Linked DNA regions of Homo sapiens: all the other regions are linked to region 7. Evidence: promoter capture Hi-C in 16 types of primary human blood cells and fetal thymus (Javierre and others, 2016). All regions are on one chromosome and are shown on one strand. Each heading gives the region's core, a stretch centred on a gene start or on the middle of the fragment in contact. The rest is flanking DNA. Distances are from core to core; before and after follow the strand shown.

What was found. Contacts are between HindIII fragments. The CHiCAGO score rates a contact against its expected background, and 5 or more counts as called.
Region 1: a contact is called between a fragment that was not itself captured here and the fragment with the promoter of ALG14-AS1 in region 7, in 2 of 17 cell types (endothelial precursors and erythroblasts). The highest score is 7.1, in endothelial precursors.
Region 2: a contact is called between a fragment that was not itself captured here and the fragment with the promoter of ALG14-AS1 in region 7, in 6 of 17 cell types (total B cells, M1 macrophages, fetal thymus and 3 more). The highest score is 6.8, in total B cells.
Region 3: a fragment that was not itself captured here is called in contact with the fragment with the promoter of ALG14-AS1 in region 7 in 3 of 17 cell types (erythroblasts, total CD4 T cells and fetal thymus); the score reaches 5.8 in erythroblasts.
Region 4: a contact is called between a fragment that was not itself captured here and the fragment with the promoter of ALG14-AS1 in region 7, in 3 of 17 cell types (naive CD8 T cells, total B cells and total CD8 T cells). The highest score is 7.0, in naive CD8 T cells.
Region 5: a fragment that was not itself captured here is called in contact with the fragment with the promoter of ALG14-AS1 in region 7 in 1 of 17 cell types (endothelial precursors); the score reaches 7.1 in endothelial precursors.
Region 6: a contact is called between a fragment that was not itself captured here and the fragment with the promoter of ALG14-AS1 in region 7, in 1 of 17 cell types (total CD4 T cells). The highest score is 5.8, in total CD4 T cells.

Annotation. Positions count from the first base shown.
Region 1 is chr1:94,513,697-94,516,396 of GRCh38, reverse strand. ABCD3 (ATP binding cassette subfamily D member 3) reads right to left here. Exons shown (of 23, transcript NM_002858.4): 22 at 1,195-1,251. Among named protein-coding and RNA genes, the nearest start is that of F3, 27 kb to the left of the region's middle. The HindIII fragment of the contact is 3,154 bases long and covers 1-2,700 here.
Region 2 is chr1:94,487,057-94,489,756 of GRCh38, reverse strand. It overlaps ABCD3 (ATP binding cassette subfamily D member 3), which reads right to left. Exons shown (of 23, transcript NM_002858.4): 11 at 2,146-2,215; 12 at 1,966-2,063; 13 at 1,774-1,865; 14 at 1-32. Among named protein-coding and RNA genes, the nearest start is that of F3, 53 kb to the left of the region's middle. The HindIII fragment of the contact is 5,668 bases long and covers 1-2,700 here.
Region 3 is chr1:94,470,909-94,473,608 of GRCh38, reverse strand. The region is part of intron 4 of ABCD3 (ATP binding cassette subfamily D member 3); the gene reads right to left. Among named protein-coding and RNA genes, the nearest start is that of ABCD3, 54 kb to the right of the region's middle. The HindIII fragment of the contact is 756 bases long and covers 970-1,725 here.
Region 4 is chr1:94,422,122-94,424,821 of GRCh38, reverse strand. The region is part of intron 1 of ABCD3 (ATP binding cassette subfamily D member 3); the gene reads right to left. Among named protein-coding and RNA genes, the nearest start is that of ABCD3, 5.1 kb to the right of the region's middle. The HindIII fragment of the contact is 5,695 bases long and covers 1-2,700 here.
Region 5 is chr1:94,538,100-94,540,799 of GRCh38, reverse strand. It overlaps F3 (coagulation factor III, tissue factor), which reads left to right. Exons shown (of 6, transcript NM_001993.5): 2 at 432-543. Among named protein-coding and RNA genes, the nearest start is that of F3, 2.3 kb to the left of the region's middle. The HindIII fragment of the contact is 2,259 bases long and covers 309-2,567 here.
Region 6 is chr1:94,403,663-94,406,362 of GRCh38, reverse strand. It overlaps a transcript of ABCD3 not described here. Among named protein-coding and RNA genes, the nearest start is that of ABCD3, 13 kb to the left of the region's middle. The HindIII fragment of the contact is 721 bases long and covers 1,056-1,776 here.
Region 7 is chr1:95,060,196-95,062,895 of GRCh38, reverse strand. ALG14-AS1 (ALG14 antisense RNA 1) reads right to left here and starts at 1,300. Exons shown (of 2, transcript NR_132786.1): 1 at 707-1,300. The region is part of intron 2 of ALG14 (ALG14 UDP-N-acetylglucosaminyltransferase subunit); the gene reads left to right. The HindIII fragment of the contact is 7,319 bases long and covers 1,156-2,700 here.

The sequences.
Region 1 (2,700 bases), core at 74-2,573, 550 kb after region 7:
CAATTTCCTGCTCAGTTCATGAAAAATTGACAAGTTATAATATGCCATAAAATAATAAAAGCTATCTTTAAAAGTCACACAGTTATATAGAATTTCACTGAATTTTATTAAGTACTTTCATATAGGCTACCTGTCTAATTTTCATGGTAATCTAAGAGATAGGAAGGTAAGGCTCAATAACTTCATTATACAAAGGAAGCAACTGAGGCTAGAAACTTTGGTGCCTGAACCCAGGCTCTCTGACTTCAAATCCTATGCTCTTCATTTTATCACTTGTAGACTATCATCTACATCCTAAAGTTCTTGAAGGTAAAAACTGTAATTAATTTGCATCCCTCATGACACTTAGCTCAGTATCTGGCAAAAAAAGGTCCTTAATCAGGTATGTATTTTGTGGAACAAGGCACCTTTACCATTATTCCAATTTTTCTCAAATCCTTGCTTTTACCTAAAATTTCTATATCATTTAGGAAGGAAAAGAAGGAAAGAAGAGAAGAAAGGAAAGAGGGAAGGGGGAAAGACAGAAAGGAAAGAAGAAAAGAAAGGAAGGAAGAAAGGAAGGGAGGGAGGGAGGGAGGAGGAAAGAAAATAAAGAGAATTAAACTGGGTTTACTTTCAGGTTTTGAGCATTTCACATTGAGTTGAAAAGAACTGACATAGTGAGAATGGCACTACTGAAGCACCAGAATAAGTAATACACGTGCACCAATGTAAGCCTCATTTGAATATCTTTGTAAATTATAGTGACTATCTAATGAATCCTACTTACTACAGTACATTGATAAACATAGCTTATGTTATTCAATCTTCCCCCTTGTAGTCCTGACCTCTATTAAAAATGTCCCTAAATTTTTTGCCATCTAATTCTTCTTAAGACTTTTTCTCCTCTGTCACTGCTGGATAAGAAAAGTTTACTTCACCATATTTGTGATAAGACTATGCAAAGTTTAGTCAGTTACTATTAACAGATAAGAGTCACTTATAAAACTGGAGAAAAACTGTTACACCATTGCTTTCAAAACTGACAACTATAATATTTAAGAAAATCCTATTTTATAAAACAAAACCACCTTTTCTCCTTAAGACATATGTTTAAGGGAATACAAACCATAAAATCTAAAACCATATTAACCTGAATTCATATTTTAAAGAAAATAAAATTTCACTGTACCATTCAATGAAAGAAATACAAACCTCATGATGTTTCCAAAGAGATTTCCTATGAGACACAGTGAAGAGAGTGATGCCAACCTAATACAAAGAAAATGATTTAGGTTTAATGAGTAACAGAGTCACAAATTAAACTAGTCCATGTACTTTAAGCTGTTAAGAGGACAGTCTTCAGTGACTAAAGTTAAAAAGCAATGTCAATGAGAAAAAATTTACAACTGGATGCAAAATGTTTATAGCAATGGAAAGTACTGGCCATCAACCACATAATAAAAACTACCAGGTACTGGCATTAAGTGTATTATTTTCTTTTGGGCAAAAAACATATCTCCTATCATGTCTCCTATTTTATTGTGAAAAATATATGAGAGGAATATGAGAAGGATAAAAATAGCCAAAGGTCAAAATCAGGAAAAATTAAATCAGTATAGCATTGTTGACAGTCAACTTGCTTTTCAAATACAGGGTCATAATCCCCTACCGTAAACTACTGTTTTGGAATGTGTCTTGGAATTCAGATTTTGAAAATGTATTATTTAACACCCCCAGAGAGTTCTGAGGCAGAATTTTATAATTAAACACATAAATGTTTCTGTAGCAACACACATGGACACTGATATTGAGACATATAGAGTTTAAATATCTTTTGTTAGCTTAGGCGAAGTTTTACCCAGTGAGCTTGCTACAAAATTATGAAAAATGTTTTAAATTTAAGCACTTTCTGGATTTCAGATTGTGAATACGTATTTATAGATCTGTACTTCAGATTTTCAAAAAAAAAAAAACATTAATAGATAATAGCTGTAGTTGCTCTAGATCAGTGGTTCTCAACCAAGGTGGGGAGGTCAGTGATATTTGTCCCTCAGGGGGACATTTGGCAATGACTGGAGGCATTTTTATTTTCACAACTGAAAGCACTACTGCCATCTAATGGGCAGAGGCCAGGGATGCTTTCTAAACATCCTCCAGTGCACAGCAACCCTCAACCCTGCCCAACTAGGAATTAACAGTGAAAAGGTCAATAGTGCCAGGACTGAGAAACCCCACTCTGGGTCACTGTTCCTCCAAGTGGATCACTCAAGGCTGGCAAATGCATGCTTAGGGCATCTGGGAAATTTCCACCATGGTTTCTTAATTTTATTTTCATTTTGATGATAATTTTTAAAAGATCATTATAAGTATATTCTAGATCATTTTTACCATGAGATTCAAGTTCCTCGGTTTGTATCTACACCTCTGATTGCCAAAGTGATATAAAATAAAACTTCTAATGTGTAATAAGTTTGGCTGCACTGTAAAAAGGTTCTTAAATTGGTTAGGAATTGCATAATAAAATAAGCATATTATCAGTATTAATAAAACATATATTTCAACCATACCACACTTTTCTGATTTTTCAGAGCTCATTTAAGATATTATTTCTCTGTTTATGATACTACAATAATTGGATTAGACATCTACTTAATGCACACATTCTTTACATGAGGATATAAAAAATATATGAAGTATATAAGTCAAAATAAAAAGCAA
Region 2 (2,700 bases), core at 69-2,568, 570 kb after region 7:
CTTGCATTAATTCTGTAATCCGAGCAGTAAAACTAAAATTTTAGAAAAGGAAACCATAATCAAAACTCCAGACTATTGTCACATCTTTTATTTTATACAAACTGAAGTTCCTAAAATTATAATTTAGTATAAATGAAGTAACCTAACAGTCTCATCAACATAAAGTATTAATGATAACATGTGTGCTTTATTATGTTTCAGTAGGAGAGCAGGAATATAGGGATGAAGGAAGAGGTTTCCATAGGATCCCCAACTCAACAGATACTTCATTAATAGCCAAGTCAAGGCAGTTATTTGCTGAGAATTTTCAGGAGGTTTCTCTTGGATACTACAAAAGGACCACTACTAGTATATTCCTTAGACCCAGGAAGTATGGACTCTGATCTCTTGCTGAAGTGACCTATAAAGCCATGTATAAAGCTGGTCTTTCTATCCAAGGAAGGCATTTATTAAATGTATGCCGAATGCATGCTGCCTTCCTGCAAACGGAAGAATCTGAAAGATTCCCTCTTTCTTACTCTGAAGAGGGGAAAGATGATGAGTTCTTATTATTAGATAGAAATCACTGTGGCAATAGAGAAAAATCAAAACTAACGACAAGAGGTTGGAGATAACAAAAATGACCATGATCGCCAAAGAGAAAGTATTCTGCATCGAAGAAGAAAACAGGATTTTTCTCTGAATAAAAAGCAGAAACCTCCTAAAGCAAACTTTGGGAGGTGATGAATGTTTATGGTCTTGATGGTTTCACACGTGTATAACTTATTCCCATATTCATCAAATTGTATACACTAAATATGAACAGTTTCTTATATGTCAATCATACCTCAACAAAGTGGAAAAAAGAGAAAGAAAGGGGGGCAGGGAGACGAAGGGAGGGAGTGAAAGAGAAAGACACACACACCCACACAGAAAGAGAGCGAGAGAGAGAGAGAGAGTGAAAGGAAACACCCTAAAGGAACAGAAGCACCTTATATACCATGAACTGTAAAGCCATAAGAAAAGTTAACAAGTAGGAAGAATGTTAGTATTCTCATGAAAGAGACTCTACTCATAGTAGTTAACAACTTCTATATTGCATGAAGACCATAACTGCCACAGGAGCTAAGAAGGAGGAAAAAGAGAAATATGAAGATGGATCACAGGCCTAGGAAAGATATTCAGTCATCAAACTTCTTCAGGTGACCTAAAATTTATGGTGTTTTTTACACCATACCATGCCCTTTATATTGGAGATTGAAATACTGAAATCTTAATATTTAATTTCATTCTACTGTCTAAAGATAATTTTACTACTAGATAATATGACTACATTCACAAGCACGCCTACAGATACAAGATAACATCTCATTTTTTTTCCCATTAAAGTCAACTTCATTTCTATTCATCTGTTTTGCTAGGTTGCCGGTATCTAAGATCCAAGAAAAAAAGGTATGGTAGAGGACAAGAAAATTTAAATGAGAAAATTCTATTCATAAACATAGTTTTCTGTGAATTAAGACTGCCATGATTCAACATTTCCCAACTTAGCAAATACGTGTCCATGGAGCAAACAACTTGACAGCCTCTAATCTACTGTACTGCGCAAACCAGCTGTCCTCAAGAAACATGAAAAGTTCACCATCAGAAAAATCTTCCTTAATTTTCTATCAAAACCACCTTCCTGGGCTAGGAAATGTTGACCCCTTATCTTAATCTCAACTGATACAATCATTAAGGATAATATATTTTTAAAAATTATTTTCTGCAACAGCTCATTATTACTAATCTTACCCGGCCAATCTAGTCATTTCACGCCCAGCCAAAACTATTCGACCCAGAGCTTGAGACATTCGCAAAAGCATTCTTCCACTTTGGTAGTAATCCTTAAATAGAAATAAATATTAGTTTTTACTTATAGTTCTATGACTAAAAATTTGGCTTTATTTTTACTGTTACATTTTCATTGTATTATCATCAGTTTACCTCTAGAAGTTCCGAATGTGTACTCTTGAGATGTCGAGGATGAGACAAATCTAAGAAAGGGCGACTGACAACTAGGTAACCAACAACAGTGGCAAGGTCTGAAACCAAACAGGTAAGATTTAAAACAGTAACAGTATTTCACCTTTTCCACAAATCTCATCTCTTTCAAAATATACTTACATTTGGCAATAATACTATCAATGAAGCCCATTGAAAACCGAAACAAAATGAAATTATGTAGGTGTTCCACCTGGCAGAAAACAAAAACAAAAAACCATCTTTTTCTCTGTATAAAAAACTGAATCTACTATAAGGATAAAACAAACTGTATAGTTCATTTATTCAACAAATATTTACTGAGTGCCCGTGATTTCTGTTTATATTCTGTTTATATTGTACATCACACCACCGAGGACAATGCTCTTCACAGAGCGGGTGCCAAACAAACACTTCATGAAACCATTTTTATGCAAACAGCATGGAAATTACATAAACAATTTTAACAATGCTGTTTCTCTTGCATGCAATAGCACAATGCTATTGTAGTCACCATGCTTTTGGATACACATATCCCAAAAGAGGACAACAACGAAAGCAAAAAGAACAGAGATTAACTAGTTTGAGTGAAACACTAGCTGTCCGGATTGGCACTGAATGCTTTGCTTTCAGTGGAGACACATGGTCTGTGCTTTATCTAAGAATTGTATTACACCCAATCTGAACTGAGTGCTAATG
Region 3 (2,700 bases), core at 98-2,597, 590 kb after region 7:
TTGCAACTTTAAAATGTCATCATTTTGAACTTGCTGGAACCTCATCCTGCAAATGGCAAAATTAAACAGAATGATAACTAATTATTTCTTAGTAAAAATGGCTGCTTTAAAAAAAGGCTTAAGTGGCTACAAAAGAAACTAAGCTAGCATAACAATTAACAACTTTATAGTCCCAGGAATGGGTTATTATGAATAAACAAAGTACCATTTGTTTGTTTTAAAATATTTTAATAATCTGATTCTCATTTGTGTGAACTAATGGCAGGGAGACAGACTTAATGGGGATCAGCAAAGGGTCAAGAGTAAATATTTTAGGCTTTGTGCACCCTAAGGGCTCCGCTGCAACTACTCAATTCTGCCACTGTAAAACAAAAGCAGCCAAGAAGTGTGGCTGTATTCTAATAAAACTTTACCAAAACAGATGGCAGGTAGTGAGATTTGACCTGTGGGTCCTAGTTTGCCAATACTGGGACTAACGCATAGATCAGAGCCCAGAATGGATCTACAGAAGCTTCATGTTCCTCAACACACTTCAGCTAGACTAGCTTCTCTTTTGCCTGTTGTTAATCTGTTTTACATATTTTTCTGCTTTTAAAATATACATTAAAAATTTTTAAAAAGGGTTCTAAAACTTTATTAAAAATTTGAACAAAGCAGTATTATATAAGTAAAGGATCTTTGAGTAAGATATGTCTATGACCTAATACAAAGATAGTATGTATTTGATCACAGAACTCTTACTTCAAGTAATACTTAATAATGTTCCCAAATTTCATAAGACATATTTATATAAAACATTTAAACACTGGACTAAGTGGTTTAAACCTAGCTGCCCACGCACACACAAAAATTACTAGTATATGACTAGAGAAATAATTTCTTTTCTGTGAGGGACTAGATGGATAAATTTGGGAAATCCTAGGTTAAACAAATCTAACAAATGTCTTTACCAAAGACCTTCTCAAAGCTTTTAATGTATAGTATGTGCATTTTAACTCTCTGAGAGGGGTTTGTAGCATGAAACATTTCCTCTATCATAGCCAAGATTCCACAGAACATACTTTGGGAAATGTTCCTTTAGACTGATTAAGAGAAATTAATACTCCAATGTTTATATAGCCCCTAAAAAGTAAAACAGTTAAAAAAAAAAAAAACGCTAACTACAAGAAAGTTAAATAGAACCACACAAAAATGTTGTTTATAGCAATAAGAATATTACAGACATTAAGCAATCAAGACAGTACAAAAGGTTCAGAGAATTTATGTTAAAATTGTTTGAACCAAACCTTACTTAAAACCAAAGTGCTTTAGTGCTGCCCAAGCTGTGAAACACACAAGAACATGCCATCATTCAGCAATGGTTTACCATTGGAGTAGCAGCTATAAATTTAAAAAATGGTTTCTTGAATAAAGCCTTATTTCTGCTTATTATTCCACTGCAAAAAAAATAATTAACAAAAAACAATTTTACAATAGCCCTAATCACTACAACTTCCAAATGTTTAAGAATCTTTATAAAAGAGAGTTTGGTAATTTTTAAATTCTGCTTGTAGCCAAATGGGTGAAAATAAAATATATTTTTATGATTAGATAAAGCAGCAACAAGGTATGAAGAATTTTCCTCCATGTCATGGAATTAGTATAGTTTCTACCTTAAAGAGGGTGTCTTTCCTATTAAGATTTGCCCATACTCCAAAGTCATTAGTCACCATCAACAAATAAGCTTAAAATATGAAAAGGATATTAAAATGAAGTACATTAAGGACCATAATAAGTCTCTTTGAGGCTTTCTTTAGCAGAAATACATGAATCTGGACTTACTTTAGAAAAGGCAAAAAGAGAAAATAAATAAATCAATTTGCACTGTAGCTTAAATACTGAGATGGAGATATATGTTAACTTTTCAAATAAAATTATCCTGTACGAATGTACAATATTTTAAAACTTTTTTTGAGATAAGGTCCAAATATTAAAGAATTTCATACACAGCAGAGGCTCAAAACTATTTAGGAGAAAGTTAACAACTTTAAAATGAGTGTTTTACAATTGGTGAATGTGGGTTAAGAATATAAGGAAGTTCCTTATGCTAATCTTTTTTTTTTTTTTTTTGTGAGACAGGATATCCCTAAGCTTAAGTGATCCTTCTGCTCAGCCTCCCGTGTAATTGAGACTGTAGGTATGTGCCACCACAGCCAGCTAACTTTTTTATATTTTGTAAAGACGAAGTCTCACTGTGTTGCCCAGGCTGGTCTTGAACTCTTGGCCTCAAGTGATCCTCTTGACTCAACTTCCCAAAGTGTTGGGATTACAGGTATGAGCCACCACACCCAGCCCCTTATTCTATTTTTCAACTTTTCTGTAAGTGTAAAGTATACCAAAATAATGGTTTTAAAAAATGGTTCAGAAACTCATACAAAAAATGAAAAACAATTTTTTAAAATTTCATAATTAAATTTTAAAACTGAGTACTACACACACGTGCACATGATTAGGGTCCCCCTACAAACACCCTTCAAGGGAGACCAGTTAACAAGCTCTCAACTCCAGCTTCTAGTAAGTGTTTAAGGCACTTACTTTTAAATATGAATTCACAGCCAAGAGTCACAGAATGCTTGAGGAAGGCCTCTAATGTGAATGACAACAGAATAACAAAAAATGCAGGGAGCTAAAAACACATTAAAAACTTAAATAGCTTCAGAG
Region 4 (2,700 bases), core at 22-2,521, 640 kb after region 7:
CAGACAAGATAAATATGTAAAATATATAGCATATTTTATAGTGATAAGTGCTAAGGAGAAAAGTAAAGTCTGGAAGGTAGACAGGATGCTATTTTGAGTGGCAGGGGCCAGGCACAGTGGCTCTTGCCTGTAATCCCAGCACTTTGGGAGTCTGAGGTGGGAGAATCGCTTGAGCCTAGGAGTTCGAGACCAGCCTGGGCAACATAACGTGACCTTGTCTCTACAAAAAATATTAGCCAGGTGTGGTGACGTGTGGCTGTAGTCCTAGCTACTTGGGAGGCTGAGGTAGGAGGACTGTTTGAGCCTGGGTGGCAAAGGTTGCAATGATCCAAGATGGTGCCATTACACTCCAGCATGGGTGAGAGAGTGAGACCCCGTCTCAAAATAAATAAATAAATAAAAATAAATCGAATGGCAATAGAAGGTCTCACTAAAAGGATGTCTGAAAAAAGACTGAAAGAGTGGGGAGAGTAAGCAATGTGAGTATCTGAGGAAAGAGCACTTCAGGCAGGGGAAACAGCAAGAGCAAAAGCCTTGAAATAGAATGCCTACCCAAGGATGTGAATGTGCCAGTAACTGGGACATATAATTAATTAAACAACCTGTACTCAGTTCCCCCTAGCAGACCACAGACAGCTACACAGTTCTCAGAACACTGCTCTGGGCCTGATCTGCCTCAGTTGGGTTCAGTACACAGCTACTTTGGCTGGCAAATTCTTCAATGCTTTTTTTTCCATCCAAGGTTGCTTAAGCATCTCTTTTTTATTTTGAGGATCCAAACGGGGCCATATAACATCTACTCATGGGTAACTGTAAGGGTCTCAAGCCGCTCTAGCCCCTCACATGATTCATGCTTGCACTTTGCAAAACACCCAGTGCGCCTGTGAAACTGAGAAAAGTGAAGCCAGCCCCTTCTAGAGCTTGATTTGAATGGGGCAGATTTAAGGAAGGAAAGCTGAATTTTGAAGTTTGCAGGAAAGTTGTAGAGGGGTTAGCAGTAACGTAGTGCAGGGAGTAAGAAGCTGGAGATATAAGGACACCCAATGGGTAAAGAAAGGCCCAGCAGCAGGCAACAGGGCTGAGACTCAGGACAAAAAAAAAAGTCAAGAAATTTCCAGCAGTGGGAATGTCCAAAAAACTTCTAAATAAAAGCATTTTAAGCTGTTCACTATGCTGGGATATAATCCCTACCACTCCTCCCAAATTTTCAATAAAGCCCTACTATAAATATCTGCTTTGTGATTGATTCTTTAGAGAAATCAAGGCAGACGCCAAAGAGACAGGCTCAAGAGACAAGATGTAAGTACCTTCTAAAATAGAGCAGAAAGTGCTCCAAAGGAAGCGAAGTAAGATGTCACTAAAAGAAACACAAGCTCCCTGAAATTCCTGAGAAATATTTAGGAGAGGAAACTGTGTTCCCACCATTTACAGAGGGGGGCTTTTAAAAGCAGGAAACTCACCCCATAAGCAGGTGGACTTTGGTAGACCTAGCTAGATTATAACCAGTCAAGCAATGAATAGATAAAACAATAAAGGTATTTAAATGCATGCTTCAGAAATTTTAAAAGAGGTGATCATCATTTAGATCATCTGGAGTAGTTAAATAACACTTCATGGATAGGGTGACCCTGACCTAACCCTTCAAGGATGACAAGAGTTGGAGAACAGGGATATCATAGAAAGATATTCTAGGTATGAGTAACAGCATGAATAAAGCTCCAAAGCCAAAAATGAGTGTGGCCTGTTCAAAGAACAGTGTAGAAACTGTCCTATTTGGAACAGAGAGTACCCATTGGCAGGCAATGGCATATAAGATTAGCCAGGTAAAGTAAGACCAGATTGAGGGAGGCTCTGAAATCCAAGATGAGAAATCCGAACTCTATTTGACAAGCATTGATAAGAAGCGAAAGAAACTGCTTTGTTCTGTTCTGTTTTTTAAAGATAATAAAATACTATGGCTATACAGACTGGTACCATTCCCTGCCTTCTAAAATTGGCCCACTGATTTCCCACTACCCAGGTCAGGTTATATATGCTCAGGTACACAACTATTACTTCTGCAAAAAGAATGTTTCTATTCATGTTTGTACTAGGCATCTCCAAATGCCTGTCAATTACGCTTAAAAGTTCTTCAACTATCCTATGTCATTTATCCTCTCTATAAACACTGTCTAACCCATGACAGAGCCGAACTAGGGAATTAAAGATGACTCAGTTCATGCCCTCAAGAAACTCAGGATCTGATGTAGGCAAAAGCCAAGAAAACAAACTAGTACAATACAGAATGGTAAGTGCTAGAGTAGGGGATACCTAGAGCAGTAGTCTCCAACCTTTTTGGCACCAGGGACCAGTTTTGCGGAACACGATTTTTCCACAAATTGGGGTTGAGTTGGGGGATGGTTTCAGGATGAAACTGTTTTGCCTCACATCATCAGGCATTAGATTCTCATAAGAAGTGTGCAACCTAGATCCCTCACATGTGCAGTTTACAACAGGTTCACGCTCCTATGAGAATCTAATGCCCCTGCTGATCTGACAGGAGGCGGAGCTCAAGTGGTAATGCTCGCTTGCACAGGCTGTGCAGCTGGGTCCTAACAGGCCACCAACCTGTACCAGTCCACAGCCCGGGGGTTGGGGACCCCTGGCCTACAGTATCATAAAAGCAGAGGACACTTACATCAGTTTGGAAATCAGAAAAAG
Region 5 (2,700 bases), core at 189-2,688, 520 kb after region 7:
TTCATTTGTATGCAGTCCTAACTCTTGTCACACGTGTGGGATTTATCTTTTTCCATAACTTACTGAAAACCCTTCCTGGCGGGCTGAACCTGACTCTTCCTGAGCTGAGTCCTGGACTGGCACACTGATGGCTCTGGGCTCTTCCCGGTCAAGTTATAACAAGGCTTTGCCCATGAATAATTTCAAACGAAAATGTCAAGATCCTTGCCGGTGTCCTGGGATTACAAGGTGAATCTTGTCATGAAGAAATTCTAGGTCTAGAAAAAATTTGAAGATTCTTTTTCTCTTGATAATTCACTAATGAAGCTTTTGTGGTTGAAAAATAAAAAGTGAGGTTTATGGTGATGTCAGGTGGGAAGGTGTTTTATACATCAATACATTCGAGTGCTCTGAAGTGCATGTAATAATAGCTGTTTCTCTGTTGTTTAAAGGCACTACAAATACTGTGGCAGCATATAATTTAACTTGGAAATCAACTAATTTCAAGACAATTTTGGAGTGGGAACCCAAACCCGTCAATCAAGTCTACACTGTTCAAATAAGGTAAGCTGGGTACAGAAAAAGAAAATTAAGGTCTTTGATGTTTCTACTGTCCTATGCTGAACAAGAATGTCTTTAAAGCTGATTACTGGATGAAATTATTTAACAGATGACGAAGAAGAAGGGATTCTTGGCAATTCGCTGGCCGGTGTCATACTCTATTAGGCCTGCAACATTTCCAGACCTTAAACTGATAGAACATTTTAATTGTTTTAATTGTTTTTGGAAATGATGGGAGAGTTCCTAAGTGGAGTATAAACTGTGGAGAGATGAACCATCTTGAGTAGGCACTGAAGTGTGCTTTGGGTCATGATAGATTAATTAATCTCATCTAAACATTGATGTCTTTTTCTGTTGCTGTCTAGACTGTGAACAATGTCTAACACCTTAGGGAAGAGGTGGGGAGGAATCCCAATGTATACATTGCCCTTAAGCAGTGTTTGATTCATTCATCTTTGGACTCCATGAATCGAAATCTGGTAGAATACATGATCTTAGTGGAGGAGGCCAAATGCGTGACTCACTGAGCCTGGCAGAGCAGAAATACTCTGCTGTCTGCACCCTCTGGGTCTGGTGTGGCTCTGCTTCTTGGTGCCTCAACTCTGACTGGCAGCTGTCCCCAGGAGGCGATAATTCAGCATGTTCAATCTAAAGGTTATGACTTCCTTGATGGTTTTCACCATATTCTTGGCAAGTTTTTGGTTTTTGAAATGTTCTAGGAGGCTTGGTAGAGATCTTATGAAATAGAGAATAGCTGCTGTGGAAATTATTTTAATGCTAATTACATAAAAGTACAAAAGTAGCACTAGCTAAAACAAAAGGTATTTTGCTGTTCTGTTTTGTTTTAGCTTGTGCCAGGCCTTTTACAGCATTAGGAATGCAACTTCTAGATAACGATGCATCTTTTAAGTGAATGTTCTTGTTTTTCAAAATGAACTTCATGACAGTAGTTGCCAAACCAGCAAGGAGAACTTGCATGCATACGTGCATGCATGTGTGGATATGTATGGGGGTGGGGGGAGAGAAAGATGAAGGAATTTCATAACATGAAATAATGATTACAGTTCTGGTCAAACTTGTCAATTCAGATTTCACCAATTGAGAATTAGTAAGTAATTTCTCTGATACAGGCCTGAAGTTTACCTTAGTAAACACTTTACTTCCATATGGTAAAAATTAGATTTTGGGAGGAATGCTTACCTCCTAAATATATTCAATCTAATATTTGAGGGACACATGGGAATATATTTATGATTCATCTGCTTTTTAAACATAAGCCTTTGTTAACTGTAAGTTCTTGAACTTTATAAGGCTGCTGTTATTTAAATGAGCACAGCTCCTGATCTGCAAACAGCAGAGCGCAGGGCTACAGCTTGGGGGATGCCAGCCGACTCAGGGTGGTCCTATGGACTGAACAATCTCTTGCTGCTGTACTGGAGGGCCTGGGAGCTTTTCCATCAGCCTCGGCCTGAGGTGTGCACTCTTCTCCTGCCCACCCCAGGAATAAATGAGATTCCTGGTTAAAAAGGACCAGAGCAGTCATTTTACAGTTGAGGAAACTGTTGCTCTGAGAAGTGAGGGATTTATTCATGACTACACTGATGGTGAGTGCCCATGTCAGGTCTGGAACCAAAGTCTACCCAGTATCCACACACCACCATCCCTCAGGTGGCTCTGCCACAGTCTGATGGGAGGCTCCAAAGCGGGAGGAAGAAGGAAAGTCTTGCCCACTGCATCTCCTCAGTTGGCCTTCCTCTCTGCCTGTTTTCCCTCCCTACAGTTAGCATCTTAAGCAGCTGCCCCTCTTCCCTCCCGACTGCTCTCACTACTGCAGCCTGGCTCCAGCCGCAGGACACTACTGCTGTGCAGAAGCCCCTACTTGGAACTCCAACTGCATTTTTCACCTTTGCTAACAGTTTTCAGTGGTGGTTGGGAAATGTTATTGGCTTAAGCCTTAGCACAAACCGTCACCGGTGATATTCATTCCATGGAAATGTTCTGAATTCTAAAGCTGAATTTACAAAGCTTCTGGAAAACAACCTGCAACCAAATTAGTGACTGAATTTTTTAGTTAACTCAAAATTCCAAATCAGAGGGTTTTGCAATGCCTGGAGGAACCTTGGAGGCTTTTAAAGTGTTAATGCTATTAATGGCATTCAG
Region 6 (2,700 bases), core at 167-2,666, 660 kb after region 7:
ACTGTAAAAAAAAAAAAAAAAACAAAACAAAATACTATAAAGACTCTATCATTAAAACAGTGTGGTACTAGTACATGAATAGACAGATCGACAGAATGGAAAGTCCAGAAATGGAGACAAGTGCATATAAAAATTTAGTGTATGATAAAGGTAATATCCCTTCTCACTCAGGCAAATATAGTTGTTTTTTTTTTTAATAAATGGTGTTGAGATCGCTGGATAACCATTTGAAAAAAAGTTAAATTCCTTCCTCAGACCATACACAGGAATAAACTCCACATGGATCACAGATATAAATGTGGAAAATAAAATTACACAAGTACAACAAGAAAACATGGGTAAATACCTCTGTAATCTAGATATCAGAAAAGGTTTTCTGTTACTAAAAATTCAAATGCACTAAAAGAAAAAATTGATAAATATAATTTTTAAAAATTTCTAAACTTTGGCATGCCAAAAACCATAAGCAAAGTCAAAAGGCAAACAACAAACTAGAAGAAAACATTTGCAGCCTACATTGCAAATAAAAAATCAGTATCCCTAACTGATAAAGAACTTATAAAACTTAAGGAAAAAGACCAAAAATCCTACAGAAAAATAGGCAAATGACAAGAACAGACAATTTACAAAAAGAGATACAAAAGCTGGTCTTTAAACACGTTGGAAGATGTTCAACATCGCTCCTAATAAAGAAATGCAAGATAAACTATACTAAAGTCAGTTTCTCACCCACAACTTTAGCAAAAAAATTCAAAAGCTTGATAATGGCGGTGTCTCATGCCTGTAATCCCAGTACTTTGGGAGGCCGAGGCAGGTGGATCACCTGAGGTGGGGAGTTCAAGACCAGCCTGACCAACATAGAGAAACCCTGTCTGTACTAAAAATACAAAATTAGCCAGGCGTGCATGCCTGTAACCCCAGCTACTCGGGAGGCTGAGGCAGGAGAATTGCTTGAACCCAGTAGGCGGAGGTTGTGATGAGCCAAGATGGGGCCATTGCACTCCAGCCTTGGCGACAAGAGTGAAACTCCGTCTCAAAAAAAAAAAAAAAAAGCTTGATAATGTTACTATGTGGCAAGGTATGGAGAAAATAAATACCCTCATGCATTGCTGGTAGGAATGAAAAGCAATTGAGGGGAATTTGGCTACACAGATTCAAATATAAAACTATACAGGCATTTACCCTAGAGTGTTACCTTTTGGAATTTACATATACTAGGAAGTAGATACACACCCAAAAATACAAAAATGCAATATGCACAAGATTATTTTGAAATAGCATAATATTGAACACAAACCAACTGTTCAAGTATAGGACACTAATTAATCTTTGGTATATACACATAATGAGTTCTATGCAGCTACACAAACTATAATAGGGAAGATTTCTTTTCTGTTTGTTTTTTTTTTTCTTTTTTTTTTTTTCGAGATGGGTCTCGCTCTGTCACCCAGGCTGCAGTGCAGCGGCGCAATATCAGCTCATTGCAACCTCCGCCTCAAAATAGGGAAGATTTCTAGGAACTGAAATGAAATAATTTCCAGGAGGTATAATTAAGTTTTTTATAAAAGCAAAAGAGCTTATGAAGGATGCTAACTTTAACATATGAAAGAAGGGAAAATAAAGATATATACATATATTTATTTAACTTTGCGAAAAGTAATACTAGATGAAAAATCAGATAACAATGAAATTTGTGACCTACAAGGGGATGCAGAAATAGAATGGAAGGGATGTAAAAGAGTAACACTTCTCTGAGACTATCTTTTTGCATAAGCTTGACTCTTGGAAGCATGATTACATTCTACATATTCAGAAATGAAATTCAATGAATAAGAATAAGAAGGAAAAAATGAAAAACTGAAAGCAAACCACAACAAATGAAACTGATTTTATTTCATATTAATACCATAACCACACTGGAGAGAAAAAACAAGAGAGCCAAAGATGGAAGAGAGGAAAGAAGGAAGGAATCCATGTAGCTTATGAACATAATATTTGACTATACATCCTCAGTCTTGTGCAGGGTTGTGGATAAGGAAGAATTACACATGAACCCTGAACTCATTATAGTAGACTTGTTTATTCTAGTATTATGGGCAAAGTAATTCTTAAACTGTTTAAGAATTTTATTTTGGATTGATCAAATGAGCAAAGGTATTGATGTTGTTGGGATCTAGAGTTATCACTGACGAAGAAGGGACAAAAAAATTATGGAGTAGGAGAAAACCAAAAAGAATTCTGAGGGGGATGGATTGCAACTGGAAACCTCAGATGTGATTGTATAATTTGTAAAATATGTATGTGGTATGTGTATGTGTGTATATGTGATAAGTATGCATGTATATGTACTTACAGGTATACATTTGTATACTAGTGTGTATACATTTACATATTTCTTTGTTCTGTCCACTGAAAAGACCAAGAAACAAAGTCTGGTAGCAATGATCATACCTCATACCTAGATCTTGGTCTTTTAACACCATTTACCACTAAAAGGAACAAGGGCTCCTCAAAGAAATGGCTAATTCCAGGGATGGAGCAGGGTAGGTATAAGATGAATATTTAGTCATATCAGAAAATTAAAAAGTTGATTAAAAAATCATGAGGGCATGTCACAGGAACACAGGAGTCATCTTGAAAAGGCTCCTCCAGACCAAACCTGAGATAATTTGTACACCAAAATAAGTCCAGTAATAAATT
Region 7 (2,700 bases), core at 51-2,550:
TCAACCATTGTGGAAGATAGTGTGGCGATTCCTCAGAAATCTAGAGGCAGAAATACCACTTGACCTAGCAATCCCATTGCTGGGTATATACCCAAAGGAATGTAAATCATTCTGTTGTAAAGATACATGCACACATATGTTCACTGCAGCACTATTCACAATAGCAAAGACATGGAATCAACCCAAATGCCCATCAATGATAGAATGGATAAAGAAAATGTGGTACATATACACTATGAAATACTATGCAGCAATAAAAAGGAACAAGATCATGTCCTTTGCAGGGATATGGATGGAGCCAGAAGCCGTTATCCTCAGCAAACTAATGCAGGAACAGAAAACTAAATACTACACGTTTTCACTTATAAGTAGGAGCTGAACAATGAGAATACATGGGTACATATGGGGGAACAACACACATTGGGGCCTGTTGAAGGGAGGGGTTGGGGGAGGTAGAGCATCAGGAAGAATAGTTAGTGGATGCTGGACTTAATACCTAGGTAATGGATTAATTTGTGCAGCAAACCACCATGGCACACGTTTACCTGTGTAATAAACCTGCACATCCTGCACACATACCCTGGAACTTAAAAGTTGAAGGAAAAAAAATGGTTGCTTAATTTTTTGCATATTTTTTATTCTTTTAAATAGAGAAAGCAGTTTTTCGTTGAATTCCAATAGTGAAAATTATTTTATTTTTACTTACATACACGAAGCATCCTGTTCATGTGCTTATTGGCTCTTCATTAAAGCTCTCTATCAATGTGTTACGTTTATTGATAATTTGATTTATCTATGACTGCTGTTTCTTCTCCAAATCATACTTGTGTCTGCCTTTGAAATTATTAGTACTTCTTTACCCCTGGTTGCTCACTTCATTATAGCATTTTAGTCAGTGTTTAGAGATTTTTTTTTTTAAGTGAAACTACTTCTTAATTAAGGAAGGAAACTAGAGCTGTTCCTTATGTAGAGTGAGTGCCTTTATCCATCCCTCTCTCTGGGAACGGCCCAGCTGCAGGGCTGCTCTGGATAGTTCAGGGGTGGACAGCTGGCCTAACTCAGACCAATCGAAGTCTTTCTCTGAGCTTTCTGGGCTTGGAGACCTAGAGAATGGAATCAGTCTGTCTTCAGGCAAGCTCTGTAAATGATAAAGCTTGAAAGCTGCTGACAGTCATGTTTTCACTTAGAAGATAAAGGTAGTCTATAGATAGAAGAATGAAGATAATGTACAGGAAGAGAGGAGAAGCCAGTGTCTGGTGCTGCCTTCAGTGGCTCAAGAGGCCCTGCTATAGCTGTGTTGGTCCTGGATTGGTGGTTCTTTTCTTGGGAAATCAGGACCCACTCCTAGAACCCTACCCCACTCCCTTTGTTCCCACCTTTGTGACATACGCACACTCTCTCTCTCTCTCTCTCTCAAGGCTGTTTGTGTTAACTTTTGGTCATTTGTAAACCTTATCCCCAACTAACATACTACTAAAATGTATTCTCAAAAAATCCACGTCAAACAAGATTGGTATATAAATCTGCTTGCTATCATTCAGCTATAGCAAAATGTGTGGTACTTTTTTTCCTCTGTGGAAAATAAGCCAAAGTGATTTCGTTTTTGTTTTAGGAATCAATACTGTATTAGTTTCTTAGGGTTGCTGTAACAAAACTGGGTTTTTGCCACCCATAAACTGGGTGGCTTAAAATAACAGAAATGTATTTTCTCATAGCTCTGAAGGGTAGAAGTCTGAAATCAAGGTGTCATGGGGCCATACTCCCTCCGGAGGTTCTGAAGAAGAATCCCTCCTTGCTTCCTCCTGGCTTCTAGTGGTGGCCAGCAATGCTTGGCCTTCCTTAGCTTGCAGCTACGTCACTCTAATCTCGGCTTCCACCATCATATGACCTTTTCTGTATCTCTGTCTTCACATGCCTTTTTTATGAGGATACCGGTTGGATTTAGGGCCCACTCTAATTCAGAAGGACCTCATCTTAACTTGATCATATCTGCAGTGCTCTTATTTCTAAATAAGGTCACATTCATAGATTCCAGGTGGACATGAATTTTAGGGGGACAGTAGTTATATACTGTGCATCACAACACTTAGAACCAAGTAAGTTGGGTTTGCTTCACATTAATAGTCTTAACTATAAAAATATTTTGGATTTTTATTTTTATTTATTTGTTGTTTTTTTTTTAAACAGAGTCTCACTTTGTCACCCAGGCTGGAGTGCAGTCGTGTGATCTCAGCTCACTGTAGTCTCCACCTCCCAGGTTCAAGCGATTCTCCTGCCTCAGCCTCCTGAGTAGCTGGGAGTACAGGTGCCTACTATCATGTCTGGCTATTTTTTTTTTTTTTTAATAGAGACAGGGTTTCACCATGTTGGCCAGGATGGTCTCGATCTCCTGACCTCGTGATCTGCCCACCTCAGCCTTCCAAAGTGCTGGGATTACAGGCGTGAGCCACTGTGCCCAGCCAGATTTTGGATTTTTATAGTGCCATTATTTTGTATTTTCGAAGTGCAATGTAGGACTAAGCATCTCTGTTCAACTTCCTTTTACTAACAGTCGCCTACTGGGGCAATGCAGCCACTGTTAGAGAGAAAATTCTGCTCCATTCCTAAAAGAGCCTCTACTCATGAATCTGAAGCTGGGAAGAGCTCTGCAGAGATGCAAATGAGCTGTTGAGGGAGATAGCGTGAACATTTCTGCTGGCC